Linked DNA regions of Homo sapiens: all the other regions are linked to region 7. Evidence: promoter capture Hi-C in 16 types of primary human blood cells and fetal thymus (Javierre and others, 2016). All regions are on one chromosome and are shown on one strand. The core of a region is centred on a gene start or on the middle of the fragment in contact, and the rest is flanking DNA. Distances in the headings are between cores, read along the strand shown.

Evidence for each region. Contacts are between HindIII fragments. The CHiCAGO score rates a contact against its expected background, and 5 or more counts as called.
Region 1: a contact is called between a fragment that was not itself captured here and the fragment with the promoter of MBD4 in region 7, in 2 of 17 cell types (M2 macrophages and M0 macrophages). The highest score is 7.4, in M2 macrophages.
Region 2: a contact is called between a fragment that was not itself captured here and the fragment with the promoter of MBD4 in region 7, in 5 of 17 cell types (M2 macrophages, M0 macrophages, M1 macrophages and 2 more). The highest score is 15.3, in M2 macrophages.
Region 3: a contact is called between a fragment that was not itself captured here and the fragment with the promoter of MBD4 in region 7, in 1 of 17 cell types (M0 macrophages). The highest score is 6.6, in M0 macrophages.
Region 4: a fragment that was not itself captured here is called in contact with the fragment with the promoter of MBD4 in region 7 in 1 of 17 cell types (neutrophils); the score reaches 5.4 in neutrophils.
Region 5: a contact is called between a fragment that was not itself captured here and the fragment with the promoter of MBD4 in region 7, in 1 of 17 cell types (total B cells). The highest score is 5.3, in total B cells.
Region 6: a fragment that was not itself captured here is called in contact with the fragment with the promoter of MBD4 in region 7 in 4 of 17 cell types (M2 macrophages, neutrophils, M0 macrophages and 1 more); the score reaches 9.6 in M2 macrophages.

Annotation. Positions count from the first base shown.
Region 1 is chr3:129,873,014-129,875,867 of GRCh38, forward strand. All of the region lies in intron 2 of TMCC1 (transmembrane and coiled-coil domain family 1), which reads right to left. Among named protein-coding and RNA genes, the nearest start is that of TMCC1, 19 kb to the right of the region's middle. The HindIII fragment of the contact is 9,223 bases long and covers 1-2,854 here.
Region 2 is chr3:129,839,148-129,842,072 of GRCh38, forward strand. The region is part of intron 2 of TMCC1 (transmembrane and coiled-coil domain family 1); the gene reads right to left. Among named protein-coding and RNA genes, the nearest start is that of TMCC1, 53 kb to the right of the region's middle. The HindIII fragment of the contact is 2,949 bases long and covers 1-2,916 here.
Region 3 is chr3:129,812,752-129,815,771 of GRCh38, forward strand. The region is part of intron 4 of TMCC1 (transmembrane and coiled-coil domain family 1); the gene reads right to left. Among named protein-coding and RNA genes, the nearest start is that of TMCC1, 79 kb to the right of the region's middle. The HindIII fragment of the contact is 3,105 bases long and covers 1-3,015 here.
Region 4 is chr3:128,991,107-128,994,348 of GRCh38, forward strand. CFAP92 (cilia and flagella associated protein 92 (putative)) reads right to left here and starts at 2,970. Exons shown (of 16, transcript NM_001394090.1): 1 at 2,874-2,970; 2 at 1,937-2,230. The coding sequence starts at 2,198. RefSeq lists an enhancer at 1,638-2,399 and a silencer at 2,976-3,185. The HindIII fragment of the contact is 3,206 bases long and covers 310-3,242 here.
Region 5 is chr3:129,014,621-129,017,633 of GRCh38, forward strand. All of the region lies in intron 2 of EFCC1 (EF-hand and coiled-coil domain containing 1), which reads left to right. It also overlaps a transcript of CFAP92 not described here. Among named protein-coding and RNA genes, the nearest start is that of EFCC1, 15 kb to the left of the region's middle. RefSeq lists enhancers at 1,306-1,813, 1,527-1,636, 1,657-1,706, 2,384-2,885 and a silencer at 2,487-2,646. The HindIII fragment of the contact is 2,409 bases long and covers 161-2,569 here.
Region 6 is chr3:129,924,188-129,927,083 of GRCh38, forward strand. No RefSeq gene overlaps it. Among named protein-coding and RNA genes, the nearest start is that of TMCC1-DT, 32 kb to the left of the region's middle. The HindIII fragment of the contact is 4,695 bases long and covers 1-2,896 here.
Region 7 is chr3:129,438,668-129,441,496 of GRCh38, forward strand. It overlaps MBD4 (methyl-CpG binding domain 4, DNA glycosylase), which reads right to left and starts at 1,281. Exons shown (of 8, transcript NM_001276270.2): 1 at 1,063-1,281. The coding sequence starts at 1,166. It overlaps IFT122 (intraflagellar transport 122), which reads left to right and starts at 1,557. Exons shown (of 30, transcript NM_052989.3): 1 at 1,557-1,704. The coding sequence starts at 1,664. RefSeq lists enhancers at 1,111-1,190, 1,281-1,420, 1,621-1,830, 1,981-2,030, 2,061-2,110 and 1 more. The HindIII fragment of the contact is 2,558 bases long and covers 1-2,014 here.

The sequences.
Region 1 (2,854 bases), core at 36-2,535, 430 kb after region 7:
TTCAAGCCTCCCGAGCAGCTGGGATTACAGGCACCCCCCACCACGCTTGGCTAGTTTTTGTATTTTTAGTAGAGATGGGGTTTTGCCATGTTGGCCAGGCTGGTCTCAAACTCCTGATCTCAGGTGATCCATCCACCTCAGTCTCCCAAAGTGCTGGGATAACAGGCATGAGCCACCGCGCCCAGCCTATCCTTGGAAATTAATGGAGCTTTAATTCTAGTGGAAATGACACAGATTGGGGATAAGACTTGTTAGTGGTCTCAAGACTAACACTGGTTGTCTTAATGCAGTGTGGACATACGAAAAACCCAAAAGAAAAAAAATCACAGGAAATACATAACATGAAACACTATGCAGCTGAAAAAAAAAAAAAACGGACACAAGTTGGCCAGGTGTGGTGACTCACACTCATAATCCCAGCACTTTGGGAGGTGGAAATGGGAGGATTGCTTAAGGCCAGGAGTCTGAGATCAACCTGGGCAACATAGCAAGACCCTGTCTCGAAAAATTTTTTAAACTACCCAGGCGTGGTGGTGCACGCCTCTAGTCCCAGCTAGTCGGGAGGATAAGGCAAGAGGATCCCTTGAGCCCAGGAGGTCAAGGCTGCAGTTAGCTACGATCACACGCACCACTACACACCAGCATAGGTGACAGAGTGCCACCATGTCTCTAAAAAATAAAAATAATAAGTTTAAAAATACTGTTTTTTAATGACATGGGCTATAAGTAGCATACGGTTAATCCCTGGTCCAAAATGCTTGGAACCAGAAGTGTTTTAGATTTCAGATTTTTTCACATTTTGAAATATTTGCATTATACCTACCAGGCAAGCATCCCAAATCCAAGCAGCATTTCTTTGAGTGTTATGTTGGTACCCAAAAGATTTCAGATTTTGGATTTTCAAATTTGGGATGCTCAAACTATATTGTATGAGGGAAAAAAGCAAGGTATAGAACTGTTTGAACAGTAGACCTCTATTTGAGTTTTTTAAAGGTAATATAAATATATATGTACATATATACACAAATATGTACATAAAATATCTGGAAGGAGACACAAAAAGAGGTAAAAATGGTTGTTACTAAGGAGGAGAAGTAAGGACCAGGAATCAGGGATTAAAGTGAGACTTTCATTTCTATGGTTTCAACATCTGCATATTCCTATTCAAAATGAGTTTGAAATAAAAATGTTAAAAACTTCTTTTAGACTCATATTACACATAAGAGAATTCTCAAAGTGACTCAAAGCTGTTATTTCTACAAAGTACCTAAAAATTATTGTTTGCCTACCAGCACCTGGCATAATGCCTTGCCTATAATAGATTCTCAAATGTCTTCTGACTCAATTTACTATGGAATCAATTCCACAAGCTGCCACTTACGGCATCTAAGAATCTAAAAAATAGCGGCTAGAACTGAGCGCAGTGGTTCACACCTGTAATCCCAGCACTTTGAGAGGCTGAGGTGGGAGGACTGCTTAAGCCCAGGAGTTCAAGATCAGCGTTGTCAACATAGCAACACCCTATCTCTGCAAAAAACAAATTAAATAAATAAAACATACAGGGCAGGTGCAGTGGCTCATGTCCATAATCCCAACACTTTGCAAGGCTGAGGTGGAATGACTGCTTGAGACTAGGAGTTCAAGACCAGCCTGGGCAACATAGCAAGACCCCATCTCTACAAAAAATACAAAAATTAGCTGGGTATGGTGGCGCACACCTGTAGTCCTAGCTACTTGGGAGGGTGAGGTGGGAGGATGGCTTGAGCCCAGCAGTTTGAAGTTGCAGTGAGCTATGATTGCACCACTGCACTCCAGCTGAGCAAGAGCAAGACCCTATCTCTAAAAAAATAAATAAAATAAAATGAAAAGTAGAAAATAAACTTCATATATTTGAACCTTTCTCTTCATAATCAAAGTCTGTCAGATAATTACTTAACTCTGTTTTCCTTATTCTCCACAATATTTGAGTACTGTCTTAAGTTGTCGGAAAGGAAAATCAGCTCATAACAACCTTCTCTGGGTTTTCCATATGCCCACACTGCATTAAGATGACCAATACCAGAAGCAGGCATGGTGGCACATCTGTAGTCGCAGCTACTCAGGATCTAAGGTAGGCGGATCACTTGAGCCCAGTAGTTCATCTAGCCTGAGCAATACAGCAAGATTCCATTGCTATTTAAAAAAAAAAAAAATGGCCAGGTGCGGTGGCTCACACCTGTAATCCCAGCACTGTGGGAGGCTGAGGCAGGTGATCACCTAAGGTCAGGAGTTCGAAACCAGCCTGGCCAACATGGCGAAACCCTGTCTCTACTAAAAATACGAAAAAGAATTAGCTGGGTGAGGTAGCCGGCGCCTGTAATCCCAGCTACTTGGCAGCTGAGGCAGGAGAATCGCTTGAACCCTGGAGGCAGAGGTTGCAGTCAGCCAAGATCGCACCACTGCACTTCAGCCTAGGGGACAGAGGAGGACTCCATCTCAAAAAAAAAAAAAAAAAAAAAAAAAACAACACAAACACACCCAAAAAAGATTACTCATACCAGTGTGAGACCACTAACAAGTCTTGGCCCCAATCTGTTATTTCATTTCCACTAAAACATAAACTCCATTAGGGTAGAAACTTTTATCCACTGTATCTCCAACACCTACAACAGGGCCAACAAATATGAAAGTAAGCAATACATATTTTTTTTAATAAACAAATGAAGAAAAAGAGGTCTTCCATAAAAGCCAAGAATAAGTTATGTCTAACCACACCCACCCACTTTGGTTATTTACATAAGCTCATCTGGCTGAGTATGCTACATAGACTGGATACTTTTACCAAAGAATAATAAAATAGGGCCGGTGCCGTGGC
Region 2 (2,925 bases), core at 192-2,691, 400 kb after region 7:
GTAAAGTATAATTTTTTTATTTTTCATTGCTCTAAAAGATAATTGCTTAAAGCAGTAACAATGTATTGGATAAGTACCCCACAGGTAAAAGTAAAACGCTTAACAACAATGGCAAAAGGGAAAAGAGGGAAGAACTGGGAACACACTATAACCATACTTTAACTAAATGCGAAGTGGCAAAACACCTGAAAAACTCAGGTTATTTTAAAATGTATAATGTAAACAAAAAAGCAACCACTAAAAACCTTTTTAAAGAAATCTAAGTGATAAGTCAATAAAGTAAAATGGAATTAAAAAAAAAATCACACCAAAGAAGGCAGTAGGAAAAAAACCACACAGGCGCATGCCTATAGTCCCAGCTACTCAGGAGGCTGAGGCAGCAGAATTATTTCAGTTCAGAAGTTTAAGACCAGCCTAGGCAACACGGCAAGACCTCTTCTCTACAAAAAAATAGAAAAATTAGCTAGGCATGGTGGCACACACCTATAGTCCCAGCTACTCAAGAGGTAGGAGGATCGCTTGAGCCCAAGAGTTTGAGACCAGCCTGGGCAACATAGTGAGACCCCATATCTACGAAAAATTTAAAAATTCACCAGGCATGGTGGTGTGCACCTGTAGTACCAGCTACTGGGGAGACCGAGGTGAGAGAATCACTTGAGCCCAGGAGGTCCAGGCTACAGTGAACCATAATTATGCCACTGTACTCCAGCCTGGGTGAGAGAGAGACCTTGTCTCAAAAAATAAAAAAAGAAACAAACAACAAATGCAACAAATAGAGAAGAGCTAGCAAGATGGTAGGTTTTCATCTAATTATACTAATAATCACTTTAAATGTAAATAGTCTTACCAGTTAAAAAACAGATTGTCAGACTGGGGGAGAAAAAAAAAAGCAAGACCAGGCCGGGTGTAATGGCTCACACCTGTAATCCCAGCACTTTGGGAGGCTGAGGCAGAAGGATCGCTTGAGCCCAGGAGCCCAAGACTACCCTGGGCAACATGGTGAAACCCTTTCTCTACAAAAATACAAAATATAGCTGGGCATGGTGGCATATGCCTGTAAGTCCAGCTACTTAGGACATTGAGGTGGGAGGATTGATTGAACCCAGGAGGTCAAGGCTGCAATGAGCCATGATCATGCTACTGTACTCCAACCAGGGTGACAGAGTGAGAACCTGTCTCAAAAAAAAAAAAAAAAAAGCAAGATCAAGCTATATTCGGTCCACAAGAAGCCTGCTAAGCAAAGATTTAAAGAGGAAAAAAATAAAACAATGGAGAAAAATATACCATACAAACACTAATTAATCAAAAGAAAGCTACTGTAGCCAAATGAATTGCAGACAAAGTAGATTTCAGAACAAGAAAGATTGTCAAGGATAAAGAGGAGTGATCTGGTTTGGCTCTGTGTCCCTACCCAAATCTCATCTTGAATTGTAATCCACACATGTCAAGGGAGGGACTTGGTGGGAGGCGACTGGATCACGGGGGTGGTTTCCCCCTGTTCTTGTGATAATGAGTTCTCATGAAATCTGATTGTTTAAAAGTATGTGACAGTTCCCCACCCCACTCCTGCTGCCATGTAAGACATGCCTTTCTTCCCCTTCACCTTCTGCGATGATTTTAAGTTTCCTGAGGCCTTCCCAGCCATGTGGGGCTGAGAGTCAAATTAAACCTCTTTTCTTTATAAACTACCCAGTCTCAGGTAGTTTTTTATAGCAGTGTGAAAATGGACTAACCCAGAAAATTGGTACCAGGAATGGGGTACTACTATAGATACCAGAAAATGTGGAGTGACTTTGGAACTGGGTAACAGACAGAGGCTGGAAAAGTTTGGAGGGCTCAGAAGAAGGCAGGAAGATGTGGGAAAGTTTGGAACTTCCTAGAGACTTGTTAGAAGATTTTTACCAAAGTGCTGATTGTGATATGGACAATGAATCCAGGCTGAAGTGGCCCAAGATGGAGATGAGAAACTTATTGTGAACTGGAGCAAAGGTCACTCTTGCTATGCCTTAGCAAACAGACTGGTGGCATTTTGTCCCTGCCCTAGAGATCTGCGGAACTTTGAACTTGAAAGACATGATTTAGAGTATCTGGCAGGAGAAATTTCTAAGCAGCAAAGCATTCAAGATGTGACCTGGCTTTTTCTGAAAGCGTACTGTCAGCCGGGGACAGTGGCTCATGCCTGTAATCCCGGCACTTTGGGAGGCCAAGGCAGGTGGATCACCTGACGTCAGAAGTTCGAGACCAATCTGGCCAATATGGTGAAACTCCGTTTCCACTAAAAATACAAAAATTAGCTGGGCATGGTGGCATACACCTGTAGTCCCAGCTTGGGAGGCTGAGGCAGGAGAATCACTTGAACTGGGAGGCAGAGGTTGCAGTGAGCCAAGATCGTGTCATTGCACTCCAGCCTGGGCAACAGAGTGAGACTCCCTCTCAAAATAATAATAATAATAATGAAAATGTTCATTGTATGTCATATGTGTTCACAAAGAGATAGTCTGAAATTGGAACTTATGTTTAAAAGGGAAGCAGAGCATAAAAGTTTGGAAAATTTGCAGCCTTACCATGTAGTAGAAAAGAAAAACCCATTTTCTGGGGGAGAAATTCAAGCTGCTGTTCTTGTGATAGTGAGTTCTCACAAGATCTGATGGTTTTACAGTGTGTGGCAGTTCTGCCCCCACTCCTGCCACCATGTAAGACGTGACTTACTTTCCCTTCTGCCATGATTATAAGTTTCCTGAGGCCTCCCCAGCCATGCGGCACTGTGAGTCAATTAAACCTCTTTTCTTTATAGATTACCCAGTCTCAGGTAGTTCTTTATAGCATTGTGAAAACAAACTAATACAAGGGGTATTATAATAGGGTCAGTTCCTAAGAAGACATAACAATTCTAAATGTGTATGTACCTTAAAACAAAGCTTCAAA
Region 3 (3,020 bases), core at 213-2,712, 370 kb after region 7:
CATAGGACCTGGCAAAGACTTCATAACAAAGATGCCAAAAGCGATTGCAACAAAACCAAAAATAAACAAATGGGACCCAATGAAACTAAAGAGCTTCTGCACAACAGAAGAAACTATCAAAGAGTAAACAGCCTACAGAAGGGGAGAAAATACTTGAAAATACTTGCAAACTATACATCAGATAAAGGTCTAATATTCAGAATCTATAAGGAACTTAAATCAGACAACCCTCATTAAAAAGTGGGCAAACGACATGAACGAACACTTTTCAAAAGATAACATGCATGCAGCAACAGGCTTATGAAAAAATACTCAACATCACTAATCATTAGAGAAATGCAAATCTAAACCACAATAAGATACCATCTCACACCAGTCAGAATGTCTATTATTAAAAAGTCAAAAAATAACAGATGCTGGTGAGGTTGTGGAGAAAAGAGAACACTTACACACTGCCAGTAGGAATGTAAATTAGTCCAGCCATTATGGAAAGCAGTCTGGCGATTTCTCAAATAACTTAAAACAGAATTACCATTTAACCCAGCAATCCTATTATGTATTTTCCCAAAGGAATATAAATAATTATTCCACAAAGACACATGCACATGTATGTTCACTGCAGCACTATTCACAATAGCAAAGACATGGAATCATCCTAAATGCCCATCAATGGTAGACTGGATAAAGAAAATGTGGTACATGTACACCACAGAATACTACACAGCAATAAAAAAATAATGAGATCATGTCCTTACGGAGCTGGAGGCCATTATCCTACACAAACTAACACAGGAACAGAAAACCATATACCTCATGTTCTCACTTAACAAGAGGGAGTTAAACATTTAGTATGGACACAAAGAAGGGAACAACAGACACCAGGGCCTACTTGAGGGTGGAGAGTGGGAGGAGGGTGAGGATCGAAAAACTACCTATTGGGTACTATGCTTATTACCTGGGTAATGAAATAATTTGTACAACAAACCCCCGCAACATGCAGTTTACCTATTTAACAAACCTACCCATGCACTCCTGAACCTAAAATAAAAGTTAAAAAAAAAAAAGATGAAGCTATTCCATTTCTACTGAAGAAGAGATTATTCTTAAGGAAATAGTACTTATATATGTTAAAGGAAATTTAACAATTTGAAAATGTATTTACTAAGTCATCTGTGATAATAAACACTTTAATTGTTCATCCATTCTAAACTTGTCCTTAAGTTCTTTTTCCTTATTTTTTTTTTTTGTATAATAAAGCAGGGTAAGTGATAAAAGTCCACTGTTGGAATAACTATTTATACATTTATTCTCCCAAAGAGTTGAGTTATAGGCTTGCATTTCCTATGTGGAAATGGCTTGACAATCAGAAACCATGAAATTTCTAAAGACATTAGGAGAAGACCTGAGCGTAAGGTTTAGATAAGATGCCAGACAATTTCCCAGTGTACTCCTGAACCAGATCTTCACTCACAGGCTAATTTTCCTGCAGTGTTTTAATTTTAAGTATTCATCCTGTGAATTCCTATTTAAAGTGGCAGAATCTTTGTTTCTAATCTTTTCTTTGTGATCTAACATAAGTTGCCATCTCTTTAAAATAACTTGTTATGTTTGTTGTAAGCCTCATGGTAACCAAAATACAAAAACCTATAACAGATTCACTAAAAATAAAAAGCAATGAATTAACATACTACCAGAGAAAATCACTTAACCACAAAGACAATAGTAAAAAAGGGATGAAAAGAGGAGTTACAAAACAACCAGAATATGCAATAAAATGGCAGTATTAAGCCCTTACTTATCAAAAATAACACTGAATGTAAATGGACTCAATTCTCCAATTAAAAGGCATAAAGTGGCTGAATGGACAAAGAAATAAGACCCAACTATATGCTGCCTACAAGGAACCCACTTCTCCTACAAAGATACACATAGACTGAAAGTGAAGGGGTGGGGAAAATATAGTCTATGCAACTGGAAAACAAAAAAGAGTAGAAGTAGCTATACTTACATCATATAAAATAGATTACAAATCGAAGACTATAGGAAGAGACAAAGTAGGTCACTATATAAAGATAAACTGGTTAATTCAGGAAGCCGATGTAACAATTATAAGTATCTATGTACCCAACATCAGAGCTCCCAAGTACATGAGGCAAACATTAGTAGATCTAAAGGGAGAGATAGACTGATAGACTGTAATACAATACTAGTAGAGAAAGTCAGCACCTCATTCTCAATAATGGACAGATCATCCAGACAGAAAATCAACAGAGACACAAAAGTTAAAGTAGACACCATACTTAATAGACCTGACATTTATAGAACACTTCACCCAATTGCTGCAGAATACTCATTCTTTTCATCACCACAAGGGAACATTCTCCAGAAGAGACCATATCTTAAACAAATCTCAACGATTAAAAAAAAATAAATCATATTAACTTTTCTGACCACAATGGAATAAAGCTAGAAATAAGTAACATTCACAGCAACAGGAAAAACTCTTAAATTTATATGGAACCACAGAAGACACTGAATAGCCAAAGCAATCCTGAGCAAAAAGAACAAAATGGGAGGTATCACACTACCTGACTTCAAAACATACTATAAAGCAATAGTAAACATATTAGCACAGTACTGGCATAAAAACACACAGACCAATGGAACAGAATGGAAAACCCAGATATAAATCAACACATTTATAGCCAACCCATTTTCAACAAAGGCACCAAGAACATACAATGGGGTAAGAACAGTCTCTTTAATAAATGGTGCTGGGGAAAATGGACAACCACCTGCAGAATGGAACTACACCCCTATCTCTGAACATATACAAAAATCAAATCAAAAGGGATTAACAACTTAAATCTAAGACTGGAAACTATGAAACTACTAGAAGAAATCATTGGGGAAATGCTACAGGACATTGGTCTGGACAAGGATTTTCAGTGTAAGACCTCAAAAGCACAGGCAACCAAAGCAAAAACAGACAAATGGGATCACATCATGCTAAAAAGCTT
Region 4 (3,242 bases), core at 663-3,162, 450 kb before region 7:
TAGAGGACAACAACAACAAAAACAAAAACATGCTTAGAAGATGCTGTGAAAGAGATGAGGGCTAAAGGAGGTCAAGTGCCAATTTTCTTTTGGTTGGTATTTGCCAGATGTCTTTTTCCAGGCTCTTTTGCTTTATAGCAATAGACCCAAGAGTAAAGGCATCATTTTAGACAGGAATGGTCACCATAAAATGACAAAAAGTTCAGTTCACCAAGAAGATGGAGCAGTTCTAAACATACTATACACCCAACCAGTCGGCCTCCAAAATAGCTGAAGCAACCATCTGTAAGACTCTCCCCAGGGCCTGAAAGCTTAAGGAGATGAATAACTCCTCCCTTCTCAAGCCTAGTCCCAAGGCGTAAGGTCACTTACGTCAGCAGCGTGCACCAGCAAAATAGCAGAAGCAGGAGGAGAGCCGGCTGGAATACACCTACCCTGGCCGGAAGACATGAAGATGAGAAAGAGGCCATCCGGGTACAGCGTAGCAGTTACGCCAGACTAGGACACTTCCTGTTTACAGGAGACTATAAAACCTTTGCCCCGTCCTCACTTGGGGCTGACGCCATTTTAGGCCTCAGCCGGCCTGCACCAAGGCGTTCATTGAAACAGCATGTTGCTCCACACCGCCTCGTGTTGTCTGTTGGTGCGCTCTCGGGGTTCCAACCCATACAAGAAACTTACACCATCGACAGAATACCAGGAGAAGTTGAAATCATAATGGTGGGCTAGTTCAAGTAAGCAGATGAAAACAAAACAAAGCAAGGTCTATCAAGATGTGAAGTACTACTTGTCTCCTCCCCTCATATTGGGCTGGAACCATGTGACTTGGTTTGGCCAATAAAATGCTAGCAGGTGGGAGACACTCAAAGACTTGAGGAGTGTTTGTGGGGCTAGGCTTGCCCTCCTGTGTGTCCGTGTTTCTAGAACAAGAAGGGGTCTAGGATAGCCCACTGGTCCAGGAGGAAAAGGAGCAGCATGAAGCAGAGCTGAGCTGTTGCAGAACCCAGCCTAGACCAGCGCCCAGCACCTCCAGGAGAACCTCAGGTTCCTGTGTGCAGCCATGAGCTTGGGGGCTTGTTTGGGTTTGTTGCACCGCATTTTTGTGGCAATAGCTAATTGATACACCTTTACATTCAGAGATTGATTCAACAGATCAGAGAAAATGTATTTTTTGGCCGGGTGCGGTGGCTCATGCCTGTAATCCCAGCACTTTGGGAGGCTGAGGCAGGAGGATGACCTGAGGTCAGGGGTTCGAGACCATTCTGGCCAACATGGTGAAACCCAGTCTCTACTAAAAATACAAAAATTAGATGGGTGTGGTGGCGTGCACCTGTAATCCCAGCTACTTGGGAGGCTGAGGCACGAGAATTGCTTGAACCCGGAAGGCTGAGGTTGCAGTGAGCTGAGATCGCACCACTGCACTCCAGCCTGGTGACAGAGCAAGACTCCATCTCAATAAAAAAAGAATTATTATTTTTTTTTTTTTTGACAGAGTTTTGCTCTTGTTGCCCAGGCTGGAGTGCAATGGCGTGATCTCTGCTCACCACAACCTCCACCTCCGGGGTTCAAGAGACTCTCCTGCCTCAGACTCCCGGAAAATGTATTTTAAACAAGGTATTAGGTGATGCACAAGCGCTTATGAGAATCAATGCCTTAACCTCTCCATGGTTTTTTTTTCTTCTGTAAAAAGCAGACAGAACATCACCTGCTTTAGGGTTGTTGAGAGGATTAAGTATGTGAAGCTGATGCAGCCACAGTTGGGCCTCTCCTAAAATTGCTGTTTCTTTTCAACCTCTGCTCCTGGCTGGCACTGGCCAGCCCGCTTTGGGGTGGGGCAGGTGGAGAGAGGATGTGGGGTGTATGCGCCCTAAACTCCTGCAGAAAGTCATGCACCTCCTTTTTTCAGAGGGTGTTAAACTTCTGCTCTAGCACCTACCCATATTCACAGGGAAGGCCAGTGAGATGGTGAATTTGCAGGGGACCACGTGGGGCACGTCGGAGCTGAAAGTGCTGGCAGGCTCAGATGAGGACTCGATGCTGCTGCACGGGCGGTCAGAGTCAGACTCCTGGGCCCTGGCCTTGGCCTTCAGGTGTTCCTCCACGTCACACTCGCTCGTGGACTGGTAAAAGCTAGTGATGGAGGAGATGGGCTCTATGCTTGCGGGGTCCTCTTCCCACTCCCAGGCATGTAGCGACATGCTGCAGAGCGCACTGCTGGCCGCCGGCGCTCCTGGCAGGGAGAAAGTGAAGGCTGTCCCCGCCTGTATTCCAGGGCTGCTCCAGGAGGTAAGCCCGGCCTCCTGCAGAAGCACCCACCCTTCTCTTCCCTGCTTCCCCCGCCTGCTCCTAGATGAACGCCGGGGCTCCTTCACTGCCTGCCACACAGTCGGTACTCAATCGACTTAGAGAATGAATGGATGAAGGAACAACAGATAAGGGTGGCTGGCAGTAAGCACGACGACGAGCAACCCCGTTTCCTTCGCCTAACCAGGAGTCAGTCGCCGGGCTTCTGGAATGCCTGCCCCAGGTGAGCAGCTCCCGGGAGCCACCAGGCGGGAGAGGGGACGTCTGCTCAGGCAGGCCTGCTGCGCCTAAGCACAAGATGCGTTTGCTATTTGGGGAGAGGCAAACCAGGCCGGGGGCAGCACGTGCAGGAGCCTGGCGAGGTCGGGGAGGGCAAGCCCTGTCCCCAAGACAGAACATGAATGTGCACTGGGTGCTGGGCTCGGGGCATCAGCTCAGGCCCATGGAGGCGGAACGCCGGGCAAACGCCGAAGAGGGAACACGCATCGAGGCGAGGCGGGAAGAGTCCCGGGCTGCGGCGGCCGAGGTGGGGGCAGGGGTCGGGGTTCCCCTCCAGGTGCTGGCGGTACCTGCGAGCGGATGCGCTGGGCGGCAGCGGGGAGTTGGACCGCGGCGGCAACTCCCGTACCGGATCCACAGCCACCTGGGCGAAGAGACTCCAAGACTGAGAGGAGCGTCCGCCGGTGCAGGGAGGGCCGCAGGCCCAGCCACTCAGCTACGTTTGGCGGTTGCTAGGAGACGCGAGGGCGTGCGGCCTGGGGGCGGGGCTCCGCGGGGCGGGGCTTTCCCCCTCAGCCACTGCGCGCAGTTTGTCAAATGGCTACATCCAGGTTCAGAAACCAGCTGCCTTCATTCCTTCACTCATGCATTCACTCATTAAGGAGTTTCTACTCGGAACGTCAGCACCTACTATAAGCCTGGTCCTTGCCCGTACGATG
Region 5 (3,013 bases), core at 115-2,614, 420 kb before region 7:
GGACATCAACATATGAATTGGGGAGACACAACCAGCCCATCACAGGAGACTTCTCTGAGATGTGACCCTGGAATTGAGGCCTGAGTGGCAAGGTGGGGCCATGACTTGTGTGATCCAGGGCGGAGGTGACTCCCATAGCAAAATCACAGGGCTGGGCACAAGCTTGGCTTGTCTGCACTGCCTGCACGGGGACGAGCAGGTTGGAGCCAGCCTGGATGCCGAGGGGCCAGTGAGGAGGGGCCAGTGAGGAGGAGCAGGTGAAGAGCCCTCCTCACCTGTACACACGGAGTCCTGCTAAGTCTCAGCTCCAAGTGGCTCAGACCCACCTGCTACTCTCCAGTCGCACCCACCACCCAGCCCAGCCCCAGCACCACTCCTGGACAGCTGTCCTAGCCTCCTGACTGGTGTCCCAGCTCCATCAGAACCACGGACCACACAGCATCAGGTTAATCTTTTCAACACCCAGATCCCACCTCGGGCTCGCCCACTCACAACTCTCCTGTGACCTCCTCTGGTGACCATCATGACTGTGAGTGACCAGGCCCTTTCCCATCCTCTCCTGCAGCCACACTGACCCTCCAGGGCTCCCCTTCTCAGGCCCTTTGGGCATACGGCTCCCTCCACCATCCCCAAGCCTACTCCTGACCAATCCACATTCACCCTTCAGGTCTTGCCAGACCCCAACTCTTTAGGGAGGCCCCACCTCCATCTACAGCCTCTTCCTAACGTCTTTCACGGCCCCTGGACTTTTCTGTCCTTCATGTATTTTTGTGATGACTTCATTGAGGTCTGCTCCTTCGGGGGGGGAGGTTGCGGGGTAAGCTCTGTGAGGTCAGGGGCCATGCCATTGCTAAGGACAGTGGCTGGCTCAATACTTCATCCTTCGGTGAATTAAAGAACCAAGTCAGCAGCTTGGGCTGGCAGGGCCTTAGAAGTCACCCAGCCCAGGCTGACACCCTGCACGGCGCCCCCGAGAGCTGAGTGTCCGTGTCTGCTCGCACACTCCTGTTGCACCCTTCCCACCGCCATCCCCTGCTCAGTAAAGTTGGGGGGGTTCCCGAATTCAGGTAGGGACCAGAGAGGAGTCACAGAGGACCCCTGAGGACTGTCCCCCCACCCCTTGTGATTTATTTTCCGCCCTTCCTCTGCTGCATCCCGCCCCCCTACCCCAAGCTGTTCTTCCTGCTGTTGTTCTCTTGTTTTCACATGTTGCTCTCTGTTTCCTGTAAGGCTGCTTCACTCAGGAAACGCCATGCAGCAAAGGAAGCCGCTGTGTGCGAACCTCCAGGACCTCCCAGAGTAGGTGCTGCAGCGTGGCCGTGGCCTGATGGCCCAAAGTAGCCTGGCTGGGTTCTGAGGGACCTGTCAGCTCTGCAGCTTCCTGAGACTTGCTGAGTCACTGAGCGGCTCAGAGCATAGGAAGCAGAGAGAAAAAGACAGCAGTGACATTTTTCATCTATTCCAGAATAAACTGAGCCCAGGCGGTGTAATGGGCTTTTGATGCGTCCCCCTGGCTTTGATGTGATGCCTTGACCGCTCCCTTGGTTACAGCAAGTTAACCGGTCAAACACTAAGCTACAGTTGCTGTACAGGTATTCTGCATATGGATTAAAGTCTGTCATCAGTTGACTTTAGGTAAGGGACATTATCCTGGCTGGTCTGGGTGGGCTTCAAGAGCCAAACAGGCTTCTGTGTGAAAGAGAAGTTCCACCTGTGGACAGAAGGGTGTGGAATCCATCTACAGCCAGGCCTACAAGCTGTAGCTCTTTCTGAAGGACTTTATGACAAGGAAGTGGGCTGTGTGATTGTGGGGGCTGGCTAAGCAAGCCTGAAGTCCACAAAAGGGAAGCTGGCAGGCAGGTGGAGCTCATGGGCACGCCCGTGTCTAGAGCCTCTGGGGAAGCCCATAAGCCGTGCCCGTGAGCTCCACCTGCCTGCCAGCTTCCCTTCTGTGGATTCCAGACTCATTTAGCCAGCCCCCGTGATCACACAGGCCACCTGCTTGTCATAAAGCCCTGGAGACAGAGCTACAGCTGCAGGCATGGCTGTAGATGGATTCCACACACTGGCCCCACTTCTCTGGTCAAACCCTGACTCGTACAGGGCCTGAGGCAGGAGGGGGCGGAACTGATTAAGGAACAAAAGCTAACATTTTTGAGCACTCACTGGGTGTTAGGCACTGCACTAAGGACTTTATCTGTACAACCTTATTGCACTCCCAAGCAGTGCTGTGAGTGGTTTATCAGTGATGATGCTTTATGCTGCAAGAACATAAAACCCAACTCAGAATGGCTTAAACCACAAGGACATTTATTATCTCATGTGAGAAGTCCAGGGGAGAGCAGTTCCTTGGCAGTTCAGTAAAGTTTTCAAGGACCTGATTCATCTTCCACTCTGTTTTCCTCAGCTTGTCATTTTGGCCTGTCAGCAAGGACCCCTCATGGTTGCAAGAGAGCTGCCATGGCCTCAGGCATCACTGCCATATCCACGGGTCCTCCTGGCAGACTTCCCCTCACCTCTCTTTGGCCAGAATTGCATCACATGCCTGTTTCTAAACCAATCTGAAGGAAGCTTCATGATTGAGGCTTCGTGAAGGCGGCTTCATGATTGGCTCAGGCCAGTCAAGTCTCTCTGGGAGCACAAGGCCACAGTCGGGGTTGAGCTGACAGCAGATGGGGTGTGGTTGTTTGGATGGCTGAATTTGGTTTCTATCACAACCATAGCCGATCACCACACTCTTAGTGACTTGAAACAACACCCACCTGTGACCTCATAATTCCGTAGGCCGGAAGTCCAGGCGGGCGTGGCGGGCTTCTCTGCACAAGCTCGCACAAGGCCGAAAGCAAGGCACCCTTGGCCGGGTCTGGACCCCCTGGGAAAGCCCGTTCCAGTGTTGGCAGAATCCAGCTCCTTTTGGCCGTGGGACCGAGGCCCTATTTCCTTGCCGGCTGTCAGCTGGGGTTGCTCTCTGCATTCCTTCACCCACATTGCTTTCATCTTCCAGCCAGCAACG
Region 6 (2,896 bases), core at 156-2,655, 490 kb after region 7:
TGCTGGGTATTAGCTTCATTTTCATCTTTTCTGCTTTTCTAATGTAAATAAAGCTACAGATTGCTCTCGATGCTTTGTGTGGCATCTCACAATTTTTAATTTGCATACTTTTAATCATTTATTAGTATTATCTAATTTTCATTATGATTTATTAGATATTTGAGTTTAGAAAAATGCTTTTTTTTTTTTTTTTTTAAAGACAGAGTCTTGCTCTGTCACCCAGGCTGGAGTGCAGTGGTGTAATCTTGGCTCACTGCAACCTCCACTTCCCAGGTTCCAACCATCCTCCCACCTCAGCCTCCCAAGTAGCTAGGACTACAGGTGTGAACCACCACACCCAGCTAATTTTTTATAGAGACGAGGTTTCACCATGCTGCCTGGGGTGGTCTTGAACTCCTGAACTCAAAGGGGTCCGCCTGCTCAGTCTCCCAAAGTGCCAGGATTAAATGTGTGAGCCACCGCACCCAGCCAGCAGCATTAGCATCATTACTTCTTGACTCCTGATTTATTTCCTTACCCCAGGCTCCCTTCACTCTACTCCAGCCTGCTCTGCTACACACAAGAGTAGCTACTGAAAGCCAGAGCTCCTTGGGCTGATTCCTCAGGCCCTCCAAGAGCTTGGCCCCACATCCCTTCCGAGGGTCCCACAGCCCAGGTCTACATGTTTGCTTGCCACACCTGACTTCCATGTCTATCTCCTTTTTTATTATTATTATTTTTTGAGACAGAGTCTCACTCTGTCGCCCACACTGGAGCACAGTGGCACGATCTTGGCTCACTGCAACCTCCACTTCTTGGGTTCAAGTGATTCTCCTGCCTCAGCTTCCCAAGTAGCTGGGACTACAGGCGTCCACCACCACGCCCAGATAATTTTTGTATCTTTAGTAGAGATGGGGTTTCACCATGTTGGCCAGGCTGGTCTCAAACCTCTGACCTCAAATGATCTGCCGGCCTTGGCCTCCCAAAGTGCTGCGATTACAGGCATGAGCCACCACGCCTGGACAGTGTGGGTGTTTTTTGAATGGGATTAACATTTAAATCAGCAGACTTTGAGTGAAGCACATTGCCCACCACGATGTGAGTGAGCCTCACCAAATCAGTTGAAGGCTTGAGTGGCCTTAAAAGACCAGCCTATGCAACCCCTTCTCTAACAAGAGAGAATTCTCCAGCAGGTGGCCTTCAGACTTCACCTGCAACATTGGCTCCTTCTGGTTCTACAGAAGATGGCCTTTGGACTGGAAGGACACCATCAGCTCTCCTAGGTCTCCAGCCACCATAATTGCATGAACAAGTTTCTCACAATAAACCTCTTCCTCTAAATATTCATATCCTATTGATTCTGCTTCTCTAGAGAACCCTAATTCACTAGGTTTTTTTTTTAAGTTTTATATTCATTTTAGGTTTTTAAATATAGTCTTAGAATGTCCAGTCTGGGAACAGCCAAATTTCCAACTTAAAGTTTACTAGAGTACGGGTGGATCTCTTTTTCTCTGTCTCCATCATAAAGTCTCCCCTGCCCTCAATCTTTCTAAGGTAGTTTCTAACCCCTGGCATGGGGCGGGGAGGGGGCAAGGGAGGGAGGAGCTCTCAGCGAGCTGGAGATTTTTTACTTGAGTGATATGGGTCCAGGGTGGTTTTGTGCTGACCTATGTGTCAAGGTGATCCATCTTATAATCTCCCCGGCTGCTTTCATGGATTCTGGAGACATCCCCACTCCCAGCTGAGAGCCTCTCATCCTGCCTTTTGCTGTGGGGGACACACTCACCTCCCGCTGGTGGCTCTCTTCTCGGCTCCTATTTTTTCCCTTCCCACCGAGTTGGCATGAACATTGCTCCAGATCGTCCCCTGGGGCATGATCAGGCCAGCTCCTGCAGGGGCCCACATCTGATCTACAGAAAATCTTCACATGTTCTAGCTCTGATCACCTTGGAGATCATTAGGGGACTGAAGCTGCCTGCTCAACCGCCTCTCCGAGGCTCCTTTTTCTCCTGTCTTTCAGTTTGCTGAGGTGGGAGTCAGAGACAGGCCCAGCTCCTCCATCCTGCAAGGAGCCCAGATGCAGCTTTCCAATGGTCCTGCTTCAGTGCCCTCAACTGGCTCAGGTAGAGGCATCCTCAGCTCTGCCCCTCGGTGGGGTAGGGCTGGGGTGGGGAGATTGAAAGACCCGCTCTCCAAAGTCCTCCTCACTAATTCCTCTGATCTCCAACAACTAGATCATTATATAACCTCAATGCAGGTGAGATGTTTTAGGGTCTTACAAATGGCTTTTGTTGGCCAGGTGCGGTGGCTCACACCTGTAATCCCAGCACTTTGGGAAGCCAAGGCGGGCGGATCACGAGGTCAGGAGTTTAAGACCAACATGGTGAATCCCCATCTCTATTAAAAATACAAAAAAAAGAAAAAAAATTAGCCAGACGTGGTGGCACGCGCCTGTAATCTCAGCTACTTAGGAGGCTGAGGCAGGAGAATCACTTGAACCTGGAAGGCAGAGGTTGCAGTAAGCCGAGATCGCGCCATTGCACCCCAGCCTGGGTGACAGGGCGAGAGTCCGTCTAAAAATAAAACGACTGTTGTTTATTTCCTTTGAACATTTGCATCTTGGTCTGGGTGTCTTATCTATTTCACCTTGGTGACTTAGTAGTTCCAGTGTAACACCCTGTTATAAACACCAGCACATACACACACACATTTACGTGTGCAAAAAAATGGGGAACAGTTTGTGCCACTGAATTTGGCGGGGGGCTCTGTGTGTGTCTGGACAGGGAGCAGACTGGAGAGGTGGCTTGCGGGTAGAAGCTGCGGGCTCTGGACTCTCTTCTTTTGGTGCCCTCCTTTTCCCCACTCCCCCGAGCTCCCAGGCTGCTTTGCATAATGAAGAAAGAATTGGGAGGGCAAT
Region 7 (2,829 bases), core at 31-2,530:
GGAGGAAGTGGGAAGATCACCTGATCCCAAGAGTTTGAGACCAGCCTGGAGAGCACAGTGAGATCCTCGTCTTTGCAAAAAATGAAAAAAAAAACCCAAAAAAACAAAAAAAAACAAGCAACCGGGCGTGGTGGAGCATACCTGTGGTCCCAGCTACTAAGGAGGCCGGGGTAGGAGGACTGCTTAAGTCCGGCAGGTCAAGGCTTCAGGGAGCTATGATTGTGCCACTGCACTCCAGCCTGGGTGACAGAGCGAGACCTCATCTCAAAAAAAAACCCACTAAACTAAAACTTCATTAAAGTTCCAATGTGTCTTCTATGATGAAAACATACTTTTAAAATTAAAAAAAAAATTTCAGTAAAGTGTATCCTAATCACTAAACCACAGATTGTAAAAGGTGGATGGGTCTAGAGAGATCATTTAACCCAAGTTCTTTTCTACAAATAGGGAAACTGCAAGAACTAGAATTAGAATCAAGGTTTTCTGATGTAATTTGGGGTAAAATAATTTTGAGGAGCTGGATGGATCTTATGAAATGATATTGTTTACAATTTTAGAGATAAAAATACTGAAGCCTGGTGGAATCAGCACAAACTCTTAAGAGACTGGGGCTCAAATTCCAGCTCTACCAGCTGTAAGTTTAGCAGCAAGTTACTTAACATCTCAAAGTCTCGGTAAAAGACTCTGTAAAAAGAAGGTGATGCCTCTTTCAAAGTAGTTCTTAGTATTAAATTTTGAAAAAAGTAGGTAAATCTTAACCTCCTATCACACACGTAGTCTAATGACTTCCTAGGATCCTCCAACCCCAAGGGGACCTCTTTCACAAAACCTCCCGGCTCCCCCCCAGTCTCCCTAGTCATCTTAGATGAGGAAGTCGAGCGCACCCCAGGGCTGATCGCACAGGAAGAGCACCTGGGCTCCAGACCCTAGTAACTAAACCCGTGGGCTTCGAGGTTTCTGCCGACCCTCTGTCAAAGGTTAGAAAGGCCCACACACTGTCCACTCTCCCGATACCATTTTACAGGTGGTGAAACTGAGGCCCAAAAGGGGACAGTAACTTACCGGAGGTCATTCGGCGGGTCTGGGACTAGGCGCTCACTAGAGGTGACGGTGGGGGCAGCTCCGCGGTCCCCCAGACTCAGACTCTCCAGCCCAGTCGTGCCCATCGAGCAGGGTCCGGCTGCAGCAACGAGCCCAGCGCCGCAACGCCCAGGGTGTGGGGCGGAGTAAGATGTGAAACCTCTTCAGCTCACGGCACCGGGCTGCAACCGAGGTCTGAATGTTGCGAAAGCGCCCCAGACGCCGCCGCTGCTTTCCGGCCGCCCCCTCGGCTACAGCCGCCATTTCCACGCTCCACCAATCAAATCCATTCTCGAGGAAGACGCACCGCCCCCACACGCCCCGACCAATCGCTCGCGCTCTGGTTGCGCTGGCGCCTTAGGGGCTCCAGTGCCACCATTGCTTTTGCTGCTTTTCTGGCTTTCCCTTTCGGACATGCGCGCTCGGAGCAAGGCGCCCTCGCACTCAGCTTACCGCGCATGTACGTTGCCAGGGGTAACGCAGGTAGCCAAAGTGGCTTGTGGAGTGGCGACCGTTAGTGAGGCGGTTGCTGAGACAGACGCTGAGGCGGGTAGGAGGAGCCCGAGCCGTAAGGGAAGCCGTGATGAGGGCCGTGTTGACGTGGAGAGATAAAGCCGAGCACTGGTGAGGAGCGGGGCGGTTCGCGAAGAGCAGGAGGTCGAGTCCTCGCGGGGAGTGCGCGAGCCGCTGCAGCGTGTTTGAGGGGGGCAGCGGGCTTGCTGCCTGGGCCGAGGGCACTGAACCCCGGCCTGGGAGACTGCAGGGTCGCCCTCCCGCCCCTTGGCGGTTGGAGAAACTCCCGAGGGTTGGAGAGCGGCAAAGGGAGGTGCCGCGCCTGAGGTGGTGGCGGGTGGAGGCGGCTCTTCCCTCACGGTCTGGCCCTGTCGCTGCCTTGGATTCATCTCACACCCACGAGACAGCACGAAGCTGCTCAAGCTTCACAGTTCTTGCCACATCCACATAGTACCCATACTCTTGTTTTCTTGACGTTTTTCTCTAAATTGTCTCATTTATTTTAATTATGATTTCACATTTTACAAGGAAACTTTATTACTCCATTTATGAAAACCAGTGTCACTTGCTCTAAATGTTAAGATAAAATCAGCGTCGCTTGCTCTAAGTGTAAAAGTAAAACTTAAAGTAGGGAGAAACAAAACTGAACAAGCTGTAGCTAGCTATTGTTGCTAGGGAGCCTTTAAACCTGAGATCTCGTTTCTCTAAAACTGGAGATGGGCAGGTATGATCAGAAAGGTGCTCAAAATGAGCACCAAACACAAGCTCTCCTAATTGGGAAGTCTGAAAAAGAACTGAAGGGGAATGACTTTGTCACCTTTTGATTCAGTTATTTAATGTCCTATTCCATTGTTATCGCCTAAATCTATAACATAGCAGTCTGTTTTGTCATATTCTTACTTATGGGATAGGTCTTGGCCTGACTTTGAAAATCATTCAGCATTGTTGTGAAGCCTCTGTTCTGGCCACTGGAGCAGGTTACTTGTCTTTGGTTCTGTCCCTTCTGAGATCTTTCTCTGTGTAAAGCATGCCGTCTCTCCTCATCTCACACGGAAATCCTGAACATCCTTCAAGGCTCACGTTGGAGACGGGTCCTCTCTTTTGTGTTCGGCACTAGTGGTAGCTGACACTATGTGCCAGGTGCTGGCTAAGCACTTCATATCCTTTATCTCGTTGTGTCTTCACCACTCTCTAAGGTAGGTACTATAATTTCCTCTATTTTATGTATGAGGAAAC